Linked DNA regions of Homo sapiens: all the other regions are linked to region 3. Evidence: promoter capture Hi-C in 16 types of primary human blood cells and fetal thymus (Javierre and others, 2016). All regions are on one chromosome and are shown on one strand. Each heading gives the region's core, a stretch centred on a gene start or on the middle of the fragment in contact. The rest is flanking DNA. Distances are from core to core; before and after follow the strand shown.

Region 1 (3,642 bases), core at 465-2,964, 2.3 Mb before region 3:
CTGCCGTGGTGTCAGGGGTTTGAGAGTTGGGTTACTTGTAGGAGGACGTCTTTAATTTCACAGGAGTGACCCCCATGGCCATCTTGAATGGGCTCTGGGATGAACTGAATTCTGTGTAAGACTCACAAATATTTTGGTAATTGAATTTGAATTTTGGTGTGTTAAGGCACAAGCATGTCTAATGTTTTTCTTAATTCATTAGTAGGGCTTTGTTTTCTTAACATTTGCTAATTTGAATATACTGAAACACCAGAGCGCATTAACCTTCTAAAAAAATAATAATCCCGGTGGATCTGTAATAAAACTAACCAAGAGGAATGGGGATGCCTCGCTAGAATGAAACACAACACCAAAATAGCAGGTTTAGTAGGTACAGCTTTCAACAATGCAGAGAGATGGGAGTTATGCCTATTTTTATTTCTGAAAGCTTTTGTTTATTAGAATAATCTTTCCAGATGGCTTAATATCCTGAAATACACTAGATCAAGAACTTTAACTTTGAGAAATGTGTCTGCTATGAATTGTTGACACCCTGAGAATAGTTTACCTCACCAATGTTTTCCCATTGTTATCTGTAAACAACCTTCAGAGTCTACTAATTTAGAGATTTTATTTTTCCTGGAACCCTGAAGTCCTACATTTCTAACTTTTTTTTTTTTTTTTTTTTTGTAAGATGTTGTCCCAGAGACCAAAATTGACTGAAGGGAATGAGAGAGGTCTTTGAAAACAGGTCACAATGTGAAAAGCACTTTGTCTCCACTTTCATAAATGAAACTTTTAATTCCATTTACCTAACTTCCCCCTGCAAGGAGATATTTGAGTTTTATAAGTGAAGCATTTGATGTGATTAAGTTTAGCAACGTATGTGAAAAAGGAAAGGAGACTTCTGTAAAGAATACTTTGAAATGAGGTATACTCCAACAGATGGTTTTCAGTCTTACCAAATGGGGAAAAATGATAATGTGACCTAGCAATTTACGTAGAGTTTAGTCATGGATTATTCTTGAAAAACCAGTACTCAGTGTATTGGGTCGTTGTGGATTTTTATTTGTTCATTTTCCAGAATACGTATTGGTCTTATTTATAATTTAAGAGAAGGAATCTTTTAAAAAGAATTTGGTGGGAGTGGTTGTAAGTCTGACTGGAGACTGTGTTTAGAGTTTCAGCTGCATTATACCTTAATGCTGTAGAGATAGAGACTGAAATATAAGCTCACTGCGTTCTGCAGCAGGGAGCTTGTCCAAACGTGTGCACTTTCCTGTATAATATGCTTGTTTAAATGTTGAAGACATGCATTATTTTGTTTTTTACTCTATTTTGATTTAGGGGAAAAGGACTTCTGTTAATTACCTAATTAAAAGTGGTATTTCGCTTATTACTAGATTTCCAACTGAAGAAGGCATTGCTATTAAATGTGCAGGAAACACATATCAGCTTTCTCTTTGGTTTTCAGCTGGCCAAATTTAACTGGAGATGTGTAACTTTCTCAGTGATAGACATGGATTTAATTATTAGTAATAGAACTGTAATGGAAGAAAGTTAAATTTATTTGATTAGGTATCTGCATTATAAATGTTTGAACTTGGAAGTCATATTTCTTCTTCAAAAGCAGACATCTTTCATGCTGTTAATGTTTATACATTTTAGTGCTTGGATAAAGCTATTCTGACACACTCAATTAGTTCTTTCAAAAATGCATCTCTTTGCTGTCCCTCCCCCTCCCCCTCCCCCTCAAAAGTTCTAGAAGCTGTGGGAAAAGTTCAGTTGTCTATCTACTGAACGTAGTCCAAGGAATACCCGTGGGTTTGTTCACTGCTCGGGGAGCTGGACGTGTGCCGCTCTGACTTCCTTTGCACATCCTTGCTTCCCTGAATTTGCATTTATTGCCTAACTAGCATCCCGCAAAAAGGCCTTTCCTGGCTGCCTGCGAATTGGCACCTTGGAGCTTCACTTCCAGCATTGTTAATGGCTAAACGTGAAGAACTAATTTTATTACTGTATTTAGCTCACAGGGCCTTGGAAGCGGCCCCTACTCTGTTGTTGGGAGCTGCATCTCATTTAGAGTTGCATTTTTCAAGTGAATTGTAGTGTCAGGCTGTGCATCCGTTGTGGGGTCTGAGTGGGTGATGGTTGGAATACATCTCCCCGTGTATGAGAGGCACCGAGGGATGTGGAGGTTCTCGGAGGCAGATGGAGGTGGGGGCTGTGGACAAGCCTCTGTTTGTGCAGCAGTGATTATTTGGTTGTTCGACTGTTTGGTTAGGTTCCCCTTGGGCTGGTCGCTAACTGGTGGCATGAGCTGACAGTGTAGCTGTTCCCTTCTTCTCCCTCCCCTCCTGGGGGCTCTCATCCTCAGTCCTTCCACCTGACTGGCCGAAAGTGTAGTGGCAGCAGCCTATTACGGGAATGTATCTAGGGGCCATAGAGGAGACAGCATTTTTCAAATTCAAGCTCTGGCCTCAGTTTTCTCTGGTCCCAGGAACCAGTGAGTTTGGGAGTGGGGCAGGACATTCTCTTTGATAGAGGAATGACCTCTGCCCTCAGTTAAGACCACCCTCCCACCCACCATTGGATGAGAACTATCAGAATCGTTCGATTTTCAGGAATTTTGAAAAGGCACAAACCTATTGTAAGAAAAGAATCATGTCAAATGTTTACATTTATGAATAATTAATAAAATTAACCTTATGGGAGGAGGAGGAAGAAAGAACAACTTTTACTATGACTTTAGAATGTCTCCTGTTCTTTAAAAAGTATCTTTATTTTAAAATTAATTTTTCTAACTGAAGAATATTTTAGGGGAATGACTTAAATAGCTATAAGGAAGGATATATTTATAGGGGCTATAAATGCATCATTTGTATTTGAAATTTCTAGCATCCACTACAGTGTACGAAGTGTATTTTAGATGGACTGGTAAAAACCAGCAGTTGCAACTGTCTGTTTTGCATTCCTTATGCTCTGCATCTGGCCACACGTGACTTGAACAGCTGAAGCTTCTCTTTCCAAAGCTAGAGCCATCATCGTATTTATGTCTAGCCTGAGATGTTTTCCGATGGTATACATTCGAATTGTAAAGCAGTGTAATTTGTGGCTCTCAACATGCCTTAAAAGTCATTTCCAAAAAAGATCTGGCATTTAATCTTTAATTCAAATGGTACTGAAAATTACAAAGCAGGAGTAATTAGAAATGCAACTATTTTTAGAAAGCAAACATGTAAATATATGTTAAGTGATGACTAAAACACAAGCAGGAGAGTAGGAAAAATTATTTAAAAGACAACTATAGTAGGTTTAGATACATCTTACCATATACTGTATTTTAACTCTGTGTTAATTCTGGTAGATTTACTTCGTATTCCTGTTTCTGTACCTTCCCCCCGAACCTTGGTCAGGAAGTAAGTAAAGTCTATAGAATCTCAGAATTTACTGGGCCGAGAAGAGATGTATATCGTATGTAATTGTGAAATCCAGACAGTTCCTCAACTGAGTGGTGAAAATGGGATGAAATCTTAGTGTGTTTTGTTATCTTCAAGGCAGAGGGAATCTGGTGTTTTTTTTTTTTTTTCCTTCAAAACCAGGTAGACAACGTCTCTCACCGCCCTGGGGAGTTGCTGGTGCTGGCTCAGCCTCCAGGATACA
Region 2 (4,033 bases), core at 1,529-4,028, 2.3 Mb before region 3:
AAAGCTGAAGGGGCCTGTGGGACCCTTCCTGTCCTCTGGGTGGTGGCTCTGGGAGGTTACGGGAGGGCACCCTTTCTTCAGGTTTACTCTCGACTTCTCTGGAGGCAGCTGCGCGGGACAGCCCAGTGTGTGCCTCGTTCACTGCTGAACTCAGCAAGAGGGATTGTTGTGGCCACTGGCGGGATTTGTATTCACAGAGTAAATGAATTCATTGGTGTTGACCGAGGCGATGTCTTCAGCAAATAGAAGGCGCGGGGCTAAGGCTTGTGCATATACAATTTCTTTTCAGAGAAGCCCTCCCCTCCCTGTGGGATGCAGAGACCACTGGTCACGTTCACGTGCACACATGCGCGCACGTGTACACACAAACGTGTACACACGCGCGTACACACATGCACATAGGCACGCACATGCATGTGCAGTCATTCTGTGGAAATTGTTTATGCAGAGTTGGCACTCAAACAATACTGGTTTTCCCTGTCCCTCTTGAGAGCCTATAAACAGTAGTGGAGGGGTGCGGCGCGGGGGTGTGGTTGGTGGAGAGATGGAGCGCGGGGGTGTGGTTGGTGGTGGAGGGGTGCGGCGCGGGGGTGTGGTTGGTGGAGAGATGGAGCGCGGGGGTGTGGTTGGTGGTGGAGAGATGCGGCGCGGGGGTGTGGTTGGCTCTGAGAGCCCCGGGAAGGAACTGACTGGGAGGCCGGTTGTGCTCCGGGCTCACCTTGCCCCAGGAGTGCCGTCGGTCTGTCCAGGGGCCACATAGGGGCCCATGCGGGCTCTGCCAGCAGCTGCAGGGCGTTTCGGAGATGGCCTCGGAGAAGCCCGTGGGCGGAGAGGGACGGACTTAGGCTTGGCCTCTTGTGACCAGCTTTTTGATGTAGTACTTGATGGAAAACAGCTTACTTAGCTTTCAAAATTTTGAATTCATAGATCCAGGGCTCCAGCTTGGTCAACGAGCTCCTGCGAAACAGTTGCAGAGATATTATTTTGTAACTCCTTCTCAAAATAGAAATATGACTGAGTGGTTGAGAAGATAAATGCAGTAATTAGGGCTTTCCAGAGATTTGTCTGAGGCATTGTTCAATTGGGGCTTGAAATTCTTTTTTTTGGTTCACAAAAAAAAAAAAAAAAAAGATAAATTGAAGGTGAACTATAAGAACAAAACTTAACCCATTTATGCCGGAGGTTGCAAATTTCTTTTTTTAGTGAAAAATCAGACCTTGGTGACAACCTTGAGCAGTAGGATATAAATAACTCCCATGAGCTTAGCGTTCCAATAATGGAACACTAGGCATAAATGGGTTAAGATGTACAGGAAAGGAAAATACAGTTATTTCCTCTTTTTAAAAATAGGAGAGAAGAGGAAAACGAAGGAATGAAGTCTGAAGGAGAAATGTATATATATATATATTGTGTTTACATCATTTTAATGGACACTATAATTACAACCCTTTTGTTACAACTTACAGTGTGATTAAGGAAGCCTGCCTGAGATATTTCAGGAACAATATAGTGTTGTGATTTGGGGAGAGTTGCTGAAATTTTTAAGTAAAATGTCAGATCTTTTCCTTAGGTATCCATGGTGGACTGGAACTTCTGAGACTCAATATTTATATTACATAATAGTTTGAACTCTGCATGTGGGAGCTGTAGAAAACCTACATGTTTCACATTTGTTTATATATGTGTAACCATAACATGCTTTAGTTTTGCCTGGCTTTCTGTGTGGACAAGCTTCCTAACCAGACAGGCCGTGCCTACGTAGTTTGATTCCATTTGGTCACCCCTCTCTGCTTATAGCTTTATAATCCACACTCAACCAAGTACGGGGTCAGTACCAGCCAGGTTGTGAATTCATCAGAACGATAAGAGTAAGAATGTCTAATGGGGAAAGCTGGGATGTTTATTTGTTTATTTAGTGTCCTAAAATAATGAAGTTTTAACTTTCTGGGCGTTTAGGTAGCAAATCCTACCAAGTGCTCAGAAATAGCTGTTTCTCAAATTATTCAGTCCGTCTTACCAGAAGACACACATCACAGTACCCAAAGAATGACAATAATTGTAACATAAACCTCTGTGAAAGGACTTAGAAAATTGTGTCGTGAACACCGTGAGCCTCGCCTGCTCCTGTGTTCATCTCTGGCCTAGGCTCAGACCTGGGGGTTGTCTTTTTCCCTCTCTGGCTTCTGCCCCAAGTCGGCCTCTTGGGAAATTGTCCCTCCATCTGTCTCCCCTTCCAGTTGCTCACTCTGAATTTCCAGCCCTTTCACACCCTCCTGCCTGAGTTTGCTAAAGTGGGGGCGTGTGCAGGAAGGGCCACTTTCAGAAGGGCTGCTGCCCTTGGGCAGGGCTGATTGCTCTGCGGTGATGGTCTGCTCATCCCACGGTGGGAGAGGCACATCCTTACCCTTGAAACCACCCCACTGGGAGACCAAACTAGGCCAAAGAGCCAGGTATCTTAGCAGTTTCCATTTCATCCACATGTCACTCACAATCTTAAGTGATTATTGCTGGTTCCAAGCAGAAACATGGTGAGGGCTGGTGGCTGGGTCTCCTCCTGCAGGTGGTGACCACCTGGGACCGGTATTGAATGGACGATGTCACCCAGAGCTATGTTCAAGGGATGAGAGTGTTTCCCGACTTATACAGTATCAGGGGGGCCCTGGGGCTAGAAGTCAGACCTGTGGACCTCGAGTCTAGAGGTGACAGAAGACAACTTAGGTGCTGTTTTCCTGAACCTCCTCTCTAGCGCTTAGAACGCACCCAGGCTTTCGCTGAGATGAGCTGCCTTGAAGCCAGCATGGAGAGCATTTTCAAGTCAGTTACTAAATGACTAACATACTTTAAGTCAATTGCTAACTCATTACATTTGAGTAAGTTTTTGCAAGGTTGGACATTTTTGAAGTTGGATATGCTGACTATATATATAATCCCCCACATGTAATGTTCATGGACATAGTTTGCTTAATTCCGTCTATGCCAAAATGCAAATATATTATTAATTTAAAGCCCTCTGCATTTTTAGCCTCTGAAAATATTGTTGAAGGTGCAAACTGAAATGTAAGATGCAGATCAAAAGGATGCATTGCTATACTGACAGTGCTGTGCTTCATAAGACATGTGCATTTTGCATTTGTCCTGATGATCTTTTAAGGCAAGCTCTTGGTGTAAGTCTTTTGCAGATAAATGCCTGTTGTTGAAAAGTGGATGGCTCTTCCATGTACGGGGACCACACGCGTAGCACCAGCACCAGGAGGGAGTCGGGCTATAGCTTGGGCGCAGGTGCCATCTAGTGGTAGCTTCCATGCATTGCGCGGGCTGCCAGGATGCCTCGGGGAAATCCGCCTTCCTCTGTCACGGAGGACAGAGACCGCTTGTGTTATGAAATGGCCTTTGTTCCGTAAGTCAGACACATGCCTGATTTTAAATCTGAAGACTCTACTAATAAGTGATCCTGATTTTTTTTTTTAAAGACTCATTACAGTTTCTTTGTAAAAGACACGGAATTTGGATTCTGTGTTTTTGGACATTTATGCATCGCAATAGAAAAAGTTGTAGAAAGCCATGCAGGTGCTAGCTAGTTTGTGTGTATATTAGTTGGCTTTAAGTCGGAGAAGTGTACAGTGTTATTTCTCTTCCTGAGACTTACTCCCTCCTATGCCTCTTAAAACACTTTGTGTAGGAGAAAACACACAAGTGGTTTAATTGTATTCTTTGTGACTCCTGTTGGAAGATTCCAGGCCCCCATTCCTTCAGAAAGGCCCCCATTCCTTCATAACTAGTGTTATGGGCCTGGCTTTCCTGCTCTCCTCCTTACTCTAAGCTTCCTTATTTTCATTCTAACATCTACCAGCGGCGTCAGCACCTTCTTCCCGACAGTCCCCGCCACCATTCTTGATAAGACTTCATGTACGGCCTTTGTGCTAGCTGGCATCTGCTTCAGACAGCTGCGTCATACAAGGAAAGATTCGTGTTAGCTAATTATTTTTTGCCAACTTGGATAAATTTGTAAGTGGAAATCTTCATTGCTCTCTGA
Region 3 (3,581 bases), core at 805-3,304:
AGGCCTGGTGTGCAGTGCAAGCATGAGCACTGTTGCCTGAGCCAGATGACCTGATGCACATGCTGTTTGCCACTTCTATGCCTTTCACCTCTGCATACAGGTTGTTCCTTCGTGCTGAACTAGTATGAATGAAAAGCTAGGTTTTTGGCATAGTCAGCAGACTCTAAAACAATTGGTATGATCCAATTTTTTGGGTTAAAAATTATTAAAAGGTATGTGTATGAAAGTGCAAAATGTTAAAAATAGTCATCTTCGTGTGGTATAATCATGGCGGTCTAAATTGCTTTGTCTTTTTTTTTCCTACAAATCACATGCGAAATGAAGACATTAAAAAAAAATCTTAAAATATCTGTGAATACATCTCTGACTTTCCCTGACAACTTACATTCCATCCTCCCTATTTTATGTTTTTCTATTACTGCAGGTAACATGTGAAAGTTTTCCCTACCAGTTATGAGTCAATAATCTCTCTCTCTCTCTTTTTATCCTATCCAATTACTCTTTATTATATGTAACAGAGCCAATATAACTTGAGAAAAATTTCCCAAACATAATGAAAAAAAGTTATATCAAATTCAAGATCAACTTTCACATCTGAGTTCCAATCTGTGAAGAAAACTGTAGATCTATATGTTCTAGTTCTAAATTATGTTTAAACGGTTTTTAAAAATTCATGTGAATTGCTTTTTCACCTTTAGCAGTGAACTTGGTATAAAAGGGCATTGGCAGCTCTTGTCATGTCTGTTGAAAGCCCAATCATTAAAGTACTCCTTTTTACCTTTTTGTGATGTTGGGACGGCGGTTCCCCCTCTCTGACTCCTGTGCACAGACACTTGTTTGCTGCCATCCTCCTTTGCTTTTCGGGGGCTCGGTCCCTGCGTCCAGATGGTTTTCTGGGTGACTCCAAGAATACATCTAGGTCGCAGCGTTTTCTTTTGATATTGAAGCCCACATCTCAAACTGGGCTCAGTCTTCAAGCACGCTTTGTTAAGCACGATGTATGGCAAAAGCAATCGCTTTGCCGAGGACCTGTGCAGCTTCTCCGTATACTGTACGGCTCGTAGAAAAGTACAAATCATGTTCACGGAAAATCGTTCCGCTTAGGGACGATGCTAACTACAATTAGGAAAGCTTTAGGGTTCACTACACATGCGGCCGGACACGTACTCAAGCCTATACGTTTACATTACATGGGGTGTTAGGCAAAAACGTCAGTTTCCGCAGCGTAAATGAAAACGAAAAGTCTCCAGGGAGAACCTGATGTCTACCTTCCCTTCTGTCTTCTTTCCATTTTAATTAACAGGCTCTGATCACCTTCTGGGCTGACATTCACAGTGTCCCCGCCATGCCTTCGCAAAGTCACCTGGGAAACCCCCGTCTTCCTGGGAATAGTAGTTTGAAAACCTCGCTCTTAACTGGGATACGGCAAAGAGGCGCGCAAAAGAGACTACATCTCCCACAATTCAAGGCGGCCAGAGCACGGCGCAGGTCCTTCCCGCGCCCCCAGACGCCTCCGCGCCCAGCGTCGGCGCAGACGCTGCGCGTCCCTGGAGCGGCGGAAAGTGGGGTGTTGGTGGGGGAATTGGTACCACCCACCCTACGTGGTTCAGGCGGGACTTGCAAAAGCCAAATTAGCAGTTACAATCTACGTGTTTTCCTGATCCTTATAGAGAGGACTGTGCACAGTGGGAAATACCCCCTTGGACTGTGGTCTTGCCAATTCCGCGTGGGCAAATGATTTAGTTTTTGCGTTTTACTGTGTTTTCAGAAAAACTGGACAATAAAGAGTCAGCAAGTGGGGATGAACGAGGCCGCTGCAAAGCAGGCACCGGTTTCCTAAATGGTTAAGCCGCGAACTTGGCTTGGCGCCCTAGGCGGCAGAATGTTAGGGGTGGGTAAGGAAGCCGAGGCCCGGAAGTTTCTAGAAGCCCGCTCTGTGAGCGGGTGTCTGGCGCGGTGCCGTCTGCGCAAGGGTGGGCATACCGTTACTTTTGCTCACGCGCGCATGCGCATAAGGGGTGTGGCGACGTGCGGGCGTGGGGGCGGTGCGTGCACTCTTCGTTTCAGCCCTGGCGCGGTCCTGTGGTGAACTCCTTGTCTCTATGGCGACTGGACGCGGTCGGATCTTGCAGCAGCACTGGCTCGGCCTCCAGACGCTGCGCGGGCCCAGCAGGGGCGGTGGCGCGGCCCGGGGGCGCGCCAGGGCCTTTGGGTGCAGGTGACTGTAGGGCCTGCGGGTGGGGTCCCCTGGCGGGAAGCCCGTCACTGCGCGGCCCCGCTCTCTTCACCGTGTATTTTATTCGTCCAGCTTGGCGCAAGGCCCGTGGCCGTCTTCAACGTGAGAAGGGTATGGAAGAACGACCGGAGGAAATCCTTTCTACCCTGCAACGTGGGGTACCCTAAGTTATGACACAAATAGAGTAGCCTCTCGGGGAAATATTTTTTCTTGCGGCGCCTGTGGCCGGGGATGCGCGCACCTGCCAGGACAGGTGCAGGTCCAAGAGGTCGTTTCTCCGGGATGCGTGCCCTAAATTCACGTGTGCTCCGCCCCTGCCTTCGTATTTTCGCTCTTCTGTAACCAAGAATCTCCCTTCGTGTTTTTCATGACCTTACAACTTAGGGAAGTAGAGTCTGTTCATCAAAACCTTATCAGTTGACACCCTCATCCCCCAAGCAGATACCTCGGGCAGGCAGGTTGGTCTGGCGGGTGGGGGGCAGCACTTTCTGCACCTCCAACGTCAAGGCTAAGTTGCCATCTACATTGCCAGGTCTTGCTCATCTGCTTTCCAGAAGCATCTTCAGCGTGAAGAAGTAAAATGAGCCAGTGCATCAGAAGTATCAGCATGCATAATGGTACCTTATGAAATCCCTCTCATTATATCGTGAGCTGTTCCCTAGCTGTGTACCCATCACTGCAGTTAGTTTACAGATGGAGGGATAATGCCAAGAATGGTTTACATTCTTGAGGATTATCTTTCTGCTTGTAAGACTCCTTGATTTATAAATAGGGAAAGTCATGCATATTTTGCCTTCTAATAAACCAATGGTCTATGTTTAAGCACACAAAGGGAGTCTATTACATACTAGTTGAACTACTTGTTTTTTCCCCCTGAATCTCCAGAACTATGTCCTGTGTCCTCTCTAGGTCTCCATTACTTCCACTTACCTGTTTTCAGAAGCCCAGCCCTGTTGCTTAGTGCTGTGATAATAGTTCTTAATTGAATACCTATAATGCTAGACATACCACAAGCCTTGTCACAAATAGAATGGTGACAATGCCTGCAAAAATTCTTTTATGTAGGAGAAAAAGCAGGAATTTAAATAGGAAACTTGAACTTTTAATCAATTTGCTGCTATTACTAAAATTAGTCTTTACATAGTGCTCTATTAGGGGGAAGCAGAATGATTTTTATATGATGAATCTTTTATCCTTTGTAAGTTGAGTGAACTTCCTGGATTGATATAATTAGAGGGCCTGTCATTATGCCTGGCATGGGAACCTGCATTTCAAGCTGATTTGGAAATGTATGCATTATTTTTGGTAAAGAAAAGTCCGCTGCTAAAAATAGAATGATTGACTA

The links. Contacts are between HindIII fragments. The CHiCAGO score rates a contact against its expected background, and 5 or more counts as called.
Region 1: a fragment that was not itself captured here is called in contact with the fragment with the promoter of FBXO15 in region 3 in 1 of 17 cell types (activated CD4 T cells); the score reaches 5.4 in activated CD4 T cells.
Region 2: a contact is called between a fragment that was not itself captured here and the fragment with the promoter of FBXO15 in region 3, in 1 of 17 cell types (monocytes). The highest score is 6.5, in monocytes.

The regions. Positions count from the first base shown.
Region 1 is chr18:76,486,613-76,490,254 of GRCh38, reverse strand. All of the region lies in intron 1 of ZNF516 (zinc finger protein 516), which reads left to right. Among named protein-coding and RNA genes, the nearest start is that of ZNF516-AS1, 3.2 kb to the left of the region's middle. The HindIII fragment of the contact is 2,569 bases long and covers 430-2,998 here.
Region 2 is chr18:76,398,346-76,402,378 of GRCh38, reverse strand. The region is part of intron 3 of ZNF516 (zinc finger protein 516); the gene reads left to right. Among named protein-coding and RNA genes, the nearest start is that of ZNF516-AS1, 91 kb to the left of the region's middle. The HindIII fragment of the contact is 2,089 bases long and covers 1,734-3,822 here.
Region 3 is chr18:74,146,307-74,149,887 of GRCh38, reverse strand. FBXO15 (F-box protein 15) reads left to right here and starts at 2,054. Exons shown (of 10, transcript NM_001142958.2): 1 at 2,054-2,218. The coding sequence starts at 2,103. TIMM21 (translocase of inner mitochondrial membrane 21) reads right to left here and starts at 1,365. Exons shown (of 6, transcript NM_014177.3): 1 at 779-1,365. The coding sequence starts at 1,079. RefSeq lists enhancers at 1,115-1,204, 1,285-1,334, 1,365-1,484 and a silencer at 2,175-2,324. The HindIII fragment of the contact is 3,433 bases long and covers 1,134-3,581 here.